2 separate regions of the Homo sapiens genome follow, and region 2 is linked to region 1. Evidence: promoter capture Hi-C in 16 types of primary human blood cells and fetal thymus (Javierre and others, 2016). All regions are on one chromosome and are shown on one strand. The core of a region is centred on a gene start or on the middle of the fragment in contact, and the rest is flanking DNA. Distances in the headings are between cores, read along the strand shown.

What was found. Contacts are between HindIII fragments. The CHiCAGO score rates a contact against its expected background, and 5 or more counts as called.
Region 2: a contact is called between a fragment that was not itself captured here and the fragment with the promoter of NABP1 in region 1, in 1 of 17 cell types (fetal thymus). The highest score is 6.9, in fetal thymus.

What each region holds. Positions count from the first base shown.
Region 1 is chr2:191,675,597-191,682,520 of GRCh38, reverse strand. NABP1 (nucleic acid binding protein 1) reads right to left here and starts at 4,385. Exons shown (of 6, transcript NM_001031716.5): 1 at 3,816-4,385; 2 at 3,393-3,531; 3 at 504-575. The coding sequence starts at 3,906. RefSeq lists enhancers at 2,015-3,214, 4,042-4,544, 4,754-4,833, 6,427-6,536 and silencers at 3,684-3,743, 4,344-4,693, 6,484-6,778. The HindIII fragment of the contact is 1,958 bases long and covers 3,966-5,923 here.
Region 2 is chr2:156,335,059-156,341,982 of GRCh38, reverse strand. FLJ46875 (a long non-coding RNA gene) reads left to right here. Exons shown (of 1, transcript NR_147695.1): 1 at 1-5,411. Among named protein-coding and RNA genes, the nearest start is that of FLJ46875, 3.6 kb to the left of the region's middle. RefSeq lists a silencer at 202-301 and enhancers at 1-402, 403-958, 6,659-6,924. The HindIII fragment of the contact is 5,980 bases long and covers 559-6,538 here.

The sequences.
Region 1 (6,924 bases), core at 3,136-5,635:
GCATTGCGGCTGCCTGCACCGCACCTAGACTGTGGATAAATAGAGGACTTCAGTTTTCGTTGCTGCAAGTCCTTTTTAACATGAGTACATATTCACCCATAACCATAGAAAAAGAAAATTTAAACTTATGGCCTGAAACTTGGTGAATCACTAGCTTCGTATATGGTGAATCACTACAAAAGAGAATCTACTTCAAATGGCTCTTGTGACACCTAAAAAATGCACATTTCTAAAACCTACAGAAATGCTTCCACTAGGGCTGGTCTCAACTGCAGCTTCTTCTACTGCTCTTTGCCAGGAAAAATTGACACTTTTAACCACAGAAAACAGTACTGACAAGTGTTAAATTTGTATACACGAAGTTATTTTTTCAATTAAGCTACCAAAGACATTCAGTTTACTAGTCAAAAAAGCCAAAGAGGTTTACAATTCATACCTACCAATCATTCCGTAGATATTATTTATAATATATGCAATTATACAAAATGCATTTTAATACTTACTCCCCAATTTTTTGAAGTTCACCACCCCTTCCAGTATAAAGTGTCAGACATCCTTTCCACATGGATGCATACCTAGAGAGAAAAGAAACATTAATTCTTTAGAAATATATTTATTTTCTTCTATTTAAATCAAGTAAATCTTCACACTATATATTTTTTGTATTAAGGTAGAAGTGAGGATCAAGCCCTCTCTATCCACCATAGTAAATCAAATACAATAAATCTAACTTTGATAACTTGCTATTTACAAAAGAATACAAAAATTCTGTCGAATTTTGACATAATTATCTAAATCATAACAAATTCTGGAAAATAAGTCTTTTCGCAAAGCCAGTATTATTATACCCAATGATCACATCTTTAGTCAATTAACAAAACAAAAGCTTTTAATTGCAGAAATTTAAACAGAAACTATTTTTCAGCCACAAGATATGTAAAATCATCCTAATGTTTCATTTACAGTCTAGTCAAATAATGATATAACAGTTTTCCTTCTGCCTCCATAAAAGACACAGGATTCCTAAGCTACCGAAGATCTGGTAGAATTTCAAAGTGCTAAAAAAAACACTAAGGTCACAAAGCTTCACCTATCTGCCTTTCCAAACATGTGATTTTTAATACCATGCTGGGTTTGTAGTAAACAAACTGGCAAATGTTTACTCCGAACAATTTTGAAAGCAGACAGCATCACTACATAAAATAATCCTAGATATCTAAGAAAAAGGTAAATTAATATTATAAAATCAATCCAAGGTTTGGTTCTCAATGGTTCTCTGTACAACTACTATGGTAACTTCATGACTTTAACTTACTATACAGTTCTCTTTACTTTAATTAAAGGGTTATTTATTAAAGACACCATTCACCACTCTTAAGTTATACAAAGAGTGGCTTAGGATACAGTGCATTAACATTTCACCTTACTAAAATAAAAATTAACCCATATTTTGAGAAAAAATTTGGTTACAATTAAAATATTTAACATTCACTTTAAGAAATGAGAACACTGAGGTAAGTTTTCAGGGTATTCTGATAAACATGTTGATATTTGAACCATTATTTAGATGTTAGGTATGTTTTTCTTCAAAAGCTACTTTTCTTAGATTCAACCAGAATTTAAGGGCCTTAGAATGAGCCAGACTCCAAGCTGAGTGTGTTGTTTTGGTAAATAAGGTATAATTATTCCCATTTCACAGAAGAGGAAGCTGAAGTATGAGGTGTAGTAACTTCTCAAGGTCATACTGAAGTAGTAAATAGAGTTTCTATAGTTTTTAATTTTCGTTTAAATTGTACTCCCAGGTAATTGTTCCCCTTAAAATTCTATAGTACCTAACTAATAAGTTTAATTTTCCAATAATTTTTTTGATGGAAACACCTATGACTGTCACTACAGAACATGAAATACTTGAAATAAGATGCCGTTTTTAGCGTAAAAAATACTTTCAATCATTGGGTGAAAAATATTTGGGGAGCCAAAAACTCCAATTATACTAATCAATCCTCACCATACTTCCCTAAGAAGGAATTCTCTTTTGTTTTTTAAAGATGTGGAAGTTTAAATTACTGTCATGAGTCAGTGTATGAGAAGAAAATGTCTAAGTCCTGACTCTCACTTCCTGCTTTGATGACACTTTACCTCACTTCCTGAAGATGTTGTAAGCCTGCAAGGTAACACCAAGGAGCTCTAAGCTCCTACTCTCAGTGCTTTCCAATACTTCTAAGATTCTACTTATTAGGCCAACATCAATCTCCACCACTTTCCCTGCAGTTAATGATAAATTATTACAATTTTATTGATCTCAAAAGCTTCCAAATTCTGTTTTTAAGATCCTTTTCTGCCCTTTTATCTTCCTAAGATAAAAATTTGGTAAATTTCTAAAAGCAATCTATTTTTTAAAAAAAAAGTTCTAGTATTTTTTAAAGCCACCTATCCGCCAACTGACTCTTTTGGATGAAGGTATTGTAGATGCCTTTCTGCCAAACATTTTCTGTGTATCCCTTTGGTTTTTGCGCAACATCCACCTTACAGCAGAAGACACAAGAAATCATTTTGGAGAATGAGCCTTCCAGATACTGTAAAGTTTCCCTCTTTTTCCAAGTACAAATTTGACATATCACAGAATATGCTAAATCCTTTACCTATAATTTTCATTTATGTCCACATTTCTAAATAACATATGTAAAATACTGGCCAGGATTTCAAGTCATTAAAAATGGAGAAGGGGTGGGAAACAACTGAGTGGCAACTACACTAGAGAAAACAACTTATAAAAAAGAAAAAATATGGACTATACCAGTCTCCTAAAAAGACTCACTGACTCAGAATAGAACTAAAAATCTATGCCGGGCGTGGTGGCTCACGCCTGTAATCCCAGCACTTTGGGAGGTTGGGGCGCGCGGATCACTTGAGGTCAGGAGTTGGAGACCAGCCTGGGCAACACTCTGAAACCCCGTCTCTGCTAAAAATACAAAACTTAGCTGGGCGTGGTGGCACACGCCTGTAGTCCCAGCTACTTGGGAGGCTGAGGCACGAGAATCTCTTGAACCCGCGAGGCGGAGGCTGCAGTGAGGAGAGATCACGCCACTGCACTCCAGCTTGGCGACAGAGCGAGACTCGGTCCCAAAAAATAATAATAATTAAAAATCTACTTAACCTGTAAACCGGGGTAGAGGCGCGGATTTCCCAGCTGAAACCGACTGCCTTTCACTGCAAAGGTCTGTTACATCCCAGCGCTGCCCACCACCCAAAGTTAACACCAAAGGAGTTCAAAACTCCTCAAGAGTGGCCCACAGAAAAGGCGGGGGACTTCAGGGCTTGCCAAGATCCCAGGAGCCGGCCAATCCCGATTCTGCAGACTGTTAGGTCCCCCGACTTTTTTGCACACCTACCCTCTGGTCAACCGAATAATATCCCCTGGCTGTATAAGACCTCCGATCTCATCCCACACGGAAATAGTGATGCTGCCCGTTTTATCTGCTACTTTGCACGATCTCACTTCATGGCCGTCTTTGGTTTTGGTCACGCGTCCTGTGAGGATTTAAAAATCAAAGGGAGGGGTTGTTAGATAATGAGGACATCCAGAAAGGCTAACTCCTCCTCCGGTATTTTAATACATCTGGAAGGTGGGAAGTGACCAAGCCCAGGGCTCCCGCCTCAGGTAGGATCCGATCTCGGGCGGAGGCCACTAGAGCCACGTGGGTGGGGGAGGGGAGGGAGGAGGAGGGGAGCCCCGGGCGCGCAGCGGCCGGCGCCCCTGTCTCCCGCCCCGGGAGGCACAGCGGGCGGTGGAGTAGGCTGCAAACCCCACTTACCTATCTCCAGGACAATAAAGACGACATTTAAGTTTTTCAGTCCGGGCTTAATATCTCTTATAAAAATAAGTGGGTCGTTGACCCTATTCATATTGGGACAGGCGCGGCTACGGCTGCGGAGACGCGAGTGGGCAGGGCGGGGTCAAAGCTTCCCACCCTCCCGGGACAGGGGCGAAGGCAGAGGGGCGACCTTGGGCAGGGGTGGCGAGAGAAGGGGCAGAAAGCCGTTAGTCAGGGACCGGGCAAACCAGCCCGGACAGCACTGAGCCTAAAAAAAGAAAAAAAAAAAAAAAAAAAAAAAAGGCTCACAAGTTCTAAAGAAAAAAAGGCGAACCACTCCGCACACCAACCCCGCTCCCAACCGGGCGACAGGAAGGCAAGCGTACTAACTGCCCCGTTCTTTGGATAAAAGGAAAAAAAAACGCAGTGAGGGGACACTTCTGCCCTGAGTCCCGCTCACTCACACGGGCGCGCGCCCAGCCTGTCCCGGGCTCCGGGAAGGAACGGGCTGTGACAGCGAAACGGGAGCGGAGACAGAACACCGCACACCCAGCGTCCCAAACAGCGACTGATGAACACGCCCGCGCGCCGGCAGGACCCTCGGCCCGCCCCTCCCCTTGTGAAGTCACGCTGCGTCGGCACGCCTGCTGCCACGCCCGCCTGGTGCTGGGGAGGGGAAGCAAAGGGGCGGGACCCGGCCGCCGCAGCCCGCAGAGCTTCCCTCGCTCCTCCCCGGGGGCTGTCAGCGCGGGCTCCGCCCCCTCGTCCTTCCAATCGCTCTCGGCCCCGCCTCCCCCGCCCTCCCGTTCTCCACCCACTTCAGCTGTCGCCGCGCAGCAGCAGTTCTGTTCGGTTTCGCCTTCCTGCTGTGCAGTCTTTTGACGCTTGCTGTCCAACTTTGGAGTTTTCTTGCCTTTTTTTCTCTCAGAGTTGAGCCCCTGCCCGGGCCCTTTAGTCCCTCGGTCACGAGGAACGGTAGAGTTTAGAACCTGTGAGTACGTTAGAAAGTTCGCAGTCGAGGAAGAACAGGGTTCGGGCAAGGGCAGCTGGTCCGGTACCAAGGGAAAACAGGCTGGGATGGTGAAGGCGTCAGTGGCTACAAGGCTGGAAGTTTAGCACCAGAAGGGAATTTGGAGATCAATTCAACCGCCTCATTTCAGGCATACTTAAATTGAAACCCAGAAAGATGAGGTAATTTGCAGAAGGTCACCCAGCAACCCCTGAGCAGGCAGGACTGCAACACAAATGTCTGACGTGGGCTTCCACTGTGTAATGCTAAGCAGATAGGACGTAAATTCCTTTGCAGACTTCTCATTTTTCCTTACCCCCTGCCTCTCATATTACACACCTTCCCCATTTAGCTTTTCTTCTTTTACTTTGCACTTGCTTTTGTACATCTAAAAGGAATTAATTATTCAACAGCAGTGGGAACCCTTGAAACATAATCTGGAAAAAAAGATTAATAAAGTTTTTTTTATGTCGCGTAGTGAAAAGAGCATGTGCTTTAGAGACAAACCTGGGCTCCAGCTATTTACTTGTGAGAGCTTTAGGTCAATTGGCTTTTATTACAGCTTTTTAACCATAATAAAATGGGGATCCCTGCCTAGCAGAAGATTGATTAAATGGATCATAAATTGTCCAACTAGTGCCTAGCAAATAGTACATACTCAGTATTTTCCCCTTTTTAATCCCCGTTTTACAGGCGATGGAACTCACCAGAGACCAGATAGCTAGAGAATGGCTGAGCTGGGTTTTAAATCTAGTCAATCTTGACCCCAGAGCTCTCCAGCCTAAAGGTAATGTTTAGACTTAACTTCCAGTGGTGTCATTATAAGAGTCAAAAACAGACTGAAGAAATAAAATAGCAGAATAAAGTAGTGGGGCATTAAAGAATCATCTAGTTAATTCTTGGTGATGATAACAGAAATGTTGGGAAAAGTGTCAGAAGCCTTAATTTTCTCCCCATTCTTTCTGAGTATCTTTAGATCAACCACCACTTCCCAAGTATTTGCAAACAAGCAGCATAGATATTATAGCCCTAGAAAGAGTTGGAAACATTATCACAACATTAGCAAGAGAGTCAAGGCATTTTTAAGGAAACAGAAGCTTCCATTTCATGAACTAATAAAGCCCAAGGTGCCAAAGACACTGATGTCATACTGGAAAGTGGTGTAAAATAAAATTATAAGCATAATTTCAACATCAAATAAAACAAATGATGAAACATGCCAGTTAATGGCAGAGCCAGCGTCCAACCTCAATCCCAATCCAGCTCAGAAGCTCTAATTCTACCATGGTTATCTGGCAGGACTTGACACTTCAATTGGATTGTACTCAAAGCTGTATTTTCTTAAACAGGCAAAATATTCTCACAGAAGCAATATTTAAGGCAGAGCTCTTTTTTTTTTTTTTTAAGGTTTGACAAGATCTTCAAAAGATTAAGAATAGACAGGAAACCAATTAAGAATGTTAAGAGTTACGGCCAAGAGTTTGGGCAAAGAAAGTTTGCCACTCAACTCTCAATCATTTGCCCCCAGAAAAGGGATTAGGTTGGGCTGTTCAGGCTAATTATATGAACATTTTATAAAAAGAAATCAGACACAGAAAATCAAGCCCCACAAAAGCAGAAGCTGGTACTCCAAGCTGTGGCTCAGCCCTTCCCTTCCCCCACAGGACAGAACTCAGCTGAACATCTACTTCCTTCCCTACTAACTCAGCAGTTCTCAGAAAGGAAATGGCAACCATATGCTTTCTCATTAACCAAAACGAAAGGCAGCCTTGAGAAACAAGATGGTCTGGGCAATACAGAAACTGTTCAGCCCAGGCTAGTTGGTTTCAGCTACCTCTAAATCACTCCCAAAGATGTGGTTAATAAAAAGAAAAAGGAGATGTCAAGGAGACAATTATTGCTAGGCAGATATCTTTTCTTATATTACCATTCAGTGAAATAGATCTGCCACTCAGTCTACTCATTTAGGTCATAATGATTATATTGCTGATTCTTTAATACATACACAAGATTACTTCATGGTCTTCTTTTCTCTAAGGCTGTTGTTCTTCAAGCCTTCATTTTTCACAGCCTAAACATAAGCTTACTCTGAGATGATGG
Region 2 (6,924 bases), core at 2,299-4,798, about 35 Mb after region 1:
AGGGGTGGGTGTGAACGCCGGACGGCCCTTCCGGGACTCCTGTCCCCCCTCCTTCGCCCCACTCGCCTGCGCGCTGGAAGCCAATCTGGGTGTGTAGCGCGAAGAGCGAAAGAGAAACTTCTGCGTGACTGACTAGATGAGGCTCCTCCCGAGAAGCCGAGATAATAGAGGCCCCCTCTCCCGCCGCCCGCCTTTTTCTCCTCCCCCGGCCGCTCGCTCCTGTCGCCCCACCCCTCGAAGGCTGCGGACCAGCCCCCCACACTTCCCCCTACACCTCTGGCGGGTTCGCGCCGTGGACGCCCCCGCCCTGCGGGAGGAGGGGCTGGCGCGGATTTTAGGGACTTCCTGGGATGCGGAGATCGGCTCTGAACCATCCCCTTTCTGCTGCCCGGAGCTGGGGAAGCTCGCTGTGGAGCGTCTCGCACGTGGCAGGCAGGCAGAGAACTTGCTGCACCTTCTAGGAAATTGCAATCGATTTGTAATGCACTTTCGCTAATTGGGAGTTCAAAATTAAACTTTAATAAAGCATTCGTGTCGTCTCGTCTAATTGTGAAAGCTTCCATCCGTCCTGGTAGATAGACTCTAAGTCTCAAGTTAATGGCGCTAAGCTAGATTTTCCCCCCAAGTACAATTCCGTCAGCCGTCGTCGGCGCAGCTGGATTTCCGTAAGGTACAGATGTTGCTAATGACAGCTTAAGCACGGATGGGCAGATAGCATACGGAATGCAACATGTTGCCATATGGTTCCTTTAGCCTTTCACCTCCAGGGATATCAATCACATATATTCTGGGAGGAACTTAATGACTCTCTGAACAGCAAAATGAATTACCTGGTACAATTTATATCCCTTGACCTGATACGTTATAACAACAGGAAGATAGCATCTCGCAATTTCTGTGGTATAAATTGAACTACAGAGCTACATTTAAAATTCTACATCTATTTGTAGTTTAAGGGGCCCTGTCATATTCTGGCTGTAAAATCTGTTTCTGTATTGCCCATCTCCTTCCCCCTCCTACCTCTGGAGGAAGCAAAATTTATAAAGTTTAGCAAAACTGGTGTCGGAAATTGCCAGTCAACTGATTAATAGATGAAGTATGGAGAAATGGAAAATATGACTTCCAGAGCTACTTACTTCAACAAGAATTAGCCATCTTTAGGAACACCATACTTTTAAGCGTACAAAATTAAAGAACTCCAGAAAATGTATTTTCTGCTAGTTGTTTCAGTATAGCTCCTAAATCTATTCATTAACTATTTGAAATTCTCCATTTATTTTCAAACTTCAACCATTCCTACACTTTGGAAATTACAGAAGACAGTTCTCAGAAATATGAAATACAGGAAATGTAAGTAGCACCTCCTCAGCGAACCAGTTTCTGTACCCACAACCCCATGCACTCACTATTTATGTAGCTTAATTTGAATCATGTACATGGTGGTACTGGTAGTTTGCTTTTTCCTCCCAACATGTCAGTGACAGCATACTTAAGTTGCTGCTTCTCTCCTAGTGGAGTGATTCTGCAATATTTCACAGGTCTCATTTTTAAATATCCTGGTGACTAATAAAATGTTTTAATTGATTGCCTTTAATTTCAGATTATAAACGTGGTTGTCTTACTGTATCCTTTATTTTCTATTCACTAATACAGATAGATCACACGGGAAGACAATACTTTAAGGGCAAAAAGTAAAATAACTTACTAGAATTTCTAAACTTTATGTTTACTTTTACCTACTAAGGGATATCTGAAAGGTAGAGACATACTTTTAAAACTTTTTGCTTCTGGCACTATGTAAACATTAATTCATGTAAACTAATGACTAGCAGAATGCCTAAGATAGACATGAACAGTCTGAAAAAGTATTTACTTTCAGTCATGTCAAGTTTCGGAAAGTGTTAACATTTTGAAAGTTTGTCTATATATCATGTCCTTTCATAATTATTGTGAAATTATAAGACGATGCTTCTCCTTTTTTTTTTCCTTTGTAGTGGCTGATTTGTTACCTAGTGCTTTAGTTCGATAATTTTGATAATTATTATCAAATAAGATCCTTTGTGTGTGTATATAGGAGAAAATCTTATACAGAACACATTAAGATATACATAAGTTATGGCAATCTTGTCTTCTGGGGCTGTTTTTTAAATCTTTTAATGGCTGAGGTTTTATTTCTCTTTGTAGCACCAGCACTCGATGTGTCTTAAATGTGATCAGTAGTGATGGTGAGCTTGTCAATAATGACTCCATCTCCATGACTTGTGAATAGGCGGTGAGTGTGTCCTTTAATCAGTCACACAGAACTTGCTTTATAAAGCTGTTATTGTCATGAACAGATATTGCAGTCTTGTCAGGCCCAGTGATTATTAAAGTGTTCCTTCTTCAAAAGCCAGGCCGAAAGTCCTGCTGTGCTTCATTTCACAATTGAAGTCCATTAGTAAATAAAATCCCAAGCCGCACGATTTGCTGTTCCTCAAGTTATAGGCTTACATATATTTCATTAATAATCTTGGGCCCTTTTGTAGACATAAGTAGGTATATTTTTGGTATATATATATGGCAACAAAAATAAAATATGTATCTTGCAGCATGACTTTTATTTTAAATGAAGATTTGATGGATGTCCATTGTTACTCTAAATGAGGTGGCTGGCTGCCAAGGGAAACCCTACAGTCAGAAAGTACTAGAATTGTTACTATCTACAGGGAATCACTTTCTATTTTTTGAGTTCTCAACTTCACCTCCTCCTTTCAATAGTGCCCCTCCATATTGCTAATCTGAGAATTAGTCTGAATATGAAAACTTTTGAAAATATGTTTGTGTTGTCCAAGAAAAATTTCACCAGTGTTTCTGGTTGCCTGCTGGTTTTCAGCCTTTATCTTGAGTGGGCATGTTTATTCTAACTGAATGAAGAATGACTATTGAATTAGGTATATTCCCCATGCCAAATAATTTTAACTGTGATGTAATCCTAGCCGCTTTCTTATTTTTACTCCCGAATAAATTTAAAATATTTAAGATTGGCCAGGTGTCTGTTTTTCTCAGGGTAACATGGGACAGCTATGGATAGGCATTAGGCCTCTCATAGAACTCTTCATTCAAGTGAGTGTGGCTGAGAGGAACAACCAGGAAAGAGTATAGTGCCCCATTGCACTTGCCCTGTTGGCTTTTCAAATGCAAAATCCACGTTGTTGCATTTGGAAACTTGTTTCTCTGTTTTATGGTATTTCATTTAAGAATTTTTTTTAACTGCCAGTCTGTAAATATTTAACCAGCCAAGCAGGAAACAGCCTTTTATTCTCGACTGTATACAGCTTTTGTTTTTATCTGGGTTAGCATGGGTGCCATGTAAATACCATATAAAATTTGACTTTGGTTGTCCTTACTTTGAAGATTGACAGGGGTTTCTTTAATTAATCTTGTTTCCTTTCATGTTCTGTATTGAGATATTGAAATACAGTATTTTATACATTTATAGGATTGTGTTTGCATTTATTTAATTTATGTTTCTTTTTTTGAAGCATGTAGCCTTGAATGTTTGTTCTACCCTTTTTTTTTTTTTCACATCATTACTCTGGTGCTGCTTGATGTAACTTGATTAGCTCCCTCCCCAGTCATGATTGGTAATTAAAATAGGCATTAAAATTAGTCACTTAGCAATTTTGCTGTTCAATTGGCAATTAAATTACTTAATTGCAATTAAAGTCCTAATTTTAATTGGCAAAATGATAGATGTAGATTTAAGATAATATGTATAAATACTTTAATAAGTGTCTATATAAGGATTACTTAATTACTCAACTTCAAGTTTATGCTGTTAACTTTAGAACTTTTAAGTGAGCAATGAAATTTATATTACATCTATTCAAAGGATATGGTAATTAGATTTATTACTTATCACTATAAGGGTCCTTGCTTTAAGTTACTTTTGTAGTGTTAAAATTGTAGGCTTGATAATTGCAGAATTCTGATGAGAAAAAGGGCATATATGTCTCTGTTGCAATATTATCAATACCTTCATTTTTAAAATTAAATTGAGACATTCCATCCACCAATTAGTCTGAGGAAAAAATCAAAAGTGGTTATTTTATCATTAAAGATAGAACAAAAACTAGCCAGCTTGTGATTTACATATAAAAACTTGCAAAATGTATGTATTTTATCTAAATTTAAATAAATGCTATCTAATACTGGTAGTGTTATAATGCTATTAACTACTTTTAGAATTTGCAGATATTTGATGTTTTCTTAGCATGTAGCAACTTATTTTCATAATCTTTAAACTGTCTTTTAGGACTTTGTACATTTTAGTGATGCCTATGTTTACTAAAATTAGCAATGAAATCTAAAACCAAAGTTATTCTTCTTTGCCTAATAAAAAATAGTTCTTAAATAAGAAAATATTAAGTGGTTAATTTAAAAGCAAGTATTTAGGAGATGGTTACTGGGTGTCAAGTATTAACAAAAAATGAAGGATTTTTATTATGCAAAATACTTTTTGAGTGGCATGAGGTTTTACCATATGTTCAGTTTTATAATTTCAATTTACAAGAAGATGCTTCCAGAAAAAAGAATGCTGTTTTTTTTCTGCACATCTTTACACATTTCTAGTACTGAGTTCTGTATCAAAGAAAGAAATAATTTTAAAAGTATTTGTGTTAAGTGGTTTTTGGTAAAAATCGGCTGAGAAATACTGAATAAAAGCTACAACTATCCAAAATGTGAATATTAACAAAGCAATTGACTTGTTCTTTAACCATCCTATGAGAAAGGAACAAACAATTTGGTCAATTACTATCCTGTCAATGCAAATGAAATGGCAAAAGCAAAACAATAAAAACACTTTCAGAAGTAAAAACTAATTTTGTATTTTCAGAAACAGATTTTTTTCAAAGTGAAAATTTATTTCTTGTATCAGTAATGTGACTTACTGCCCAATGGCAACAAATGCTGTGAATGAGTTTGTCCAAATGTAATTTAAAATATATATCTTGTAATGCTAAAAATAGGTTCTACAAAGTAATTTTATTATGAAAAATCTTAAAGTTGCCTCAACTCGTAAAGCATAACAGGTATGTCTGTTTCACTATATCTGCATTGTAAGGTCTATTCTGAATTCATTTGGGAAGAATGGTGAAATAAATCCCTAAAGGCCTCTTTCCTATGCATTAAAATAGAAAATCCTATGGGATTACATTCATGTTTGCTTTCTAAATTATGCCAAAAGCTCAATTTTATTAAGTATAATCTGCCTAGCCATGCATAAAATAAACTACTTTGGTTTAGATGTGAGTATATGTATTATTTATGTTGATTTTTAATGAAAATATGTTTACATGTACCAATATGTTCTGCCTAATATTGGTTAATGTCATAAAAGATAATATAGTAACATTACTTTCCTAAATGTTTTTCTGTGGTCATCCAATAGTGTTTCTTAATAGTAATGCTTTTTAATTTATTTTAGTTGGTTTCAAAAGAGGATAGGTGCAATTTTTACTCCCACTCATTTTAAAAACTGTTAAGAAAATAGACCTTCATTGTGGGGTAACTTTACACATTTATACATGGCAATAGTTTAAAGTTATATCGGCTGCGGGGGCCTGAAAAAGCCATTATTGTCATTTTAATTGAGTTATAAAATACTTTATTTGAACTATTTATGTTCAAGAATCTTGAAGGGTTACAGTCATATAAATGCAGAATTTCAGTTTCTTTTAGCCTAAAGCATCGTTTTAACATTTTCTGAAAGGTTGTTCAATTCTACATTTTGATTCCATATGTGTAATTAAATCTCTATGCACAAAAGCATTCTCTTATGTACTAGCAAATATACCCACAGGAATCTCCTTCTAAACTATAATTTATTTAACATGTAATCATAGGATTTTAAAACATGCTTTCATTTTTCCAAACTGTATGCCAATTTGAACTTCTTGGTGATAAAATGAGAGATTTTATTACCAGTTTGATTTTTTCCTTCTGTGACCTAACAGTGAGTTAAGCATGAGCAGGAGGAAATAAAGAAAATCTTTTGTGAACCTAATCCCATGTGTTAAAACTGTTTCCCTTTTGGAGAAAATAGAAGAGAATCAAAGATTTTTAGTTATTTATGAATTCCAGCACAATATGAATATTTGGGCCTGCAGCATTCTCTTTGGTTTAGCTTAGGTAGTAAATAGCTTGTGTGTGTGTGTGTGTGTGTGTGTGTGTGTGTGTGTGTGTGTGTGTGTGAGTGATTCTCTTGAACGTTGTGGAGTCAGGCCCCCTACTGACTGGATCAGTCAATTACACACACATTGGCGGTGCTACTGAGACATCGTCCCATCAGAATCTGGTGAGGAAAACTAGTCTGGGGTTTTGAGCGTGGCCTTTTTTTTTTTTTTAAACACTTCTGATCTATATGCTGAATCCTTTCCAACCCATCTCATCCGGGCCTTACAGAAACCCTAGCCTAAGAAGTAGCTTATTCAAAATTGGTTTAAACGAGTTTAACAGTCTTACATCCGGCGTGTCTTCCTAAGAAACAGTAAAAGCTTCCCAGAAACCAGAATAGGACTTTGAAGAGGAGAGAACTCTTACACAGATGATGGAATAGATGAGAAAGGTCTCCCCTTTCTCTCATTTTAATTTATATTTAATTTTATATTTAATTATATTCCCAGTTAATAATAATTGTTATAATAAGCTGCTGTGAAAACGACCCTTCATTCTTGGTTGCATTAAGACTTGGACAAAGGCTGTTATCAGGAAGCCGCACTCGACAGGTTGTTATTAAAGAATAAGGCATCATATTACAATGTTTGGCTTCCTTGGAGCTCACTTTAAGAACTCCAGGACACTTTTCAGCTCTCTGGGGAGGCATTTTCAAATTGTCCCAGGCTCAACCCAACCTAAACTGAATGTGTTTTTAATGGCAATGAG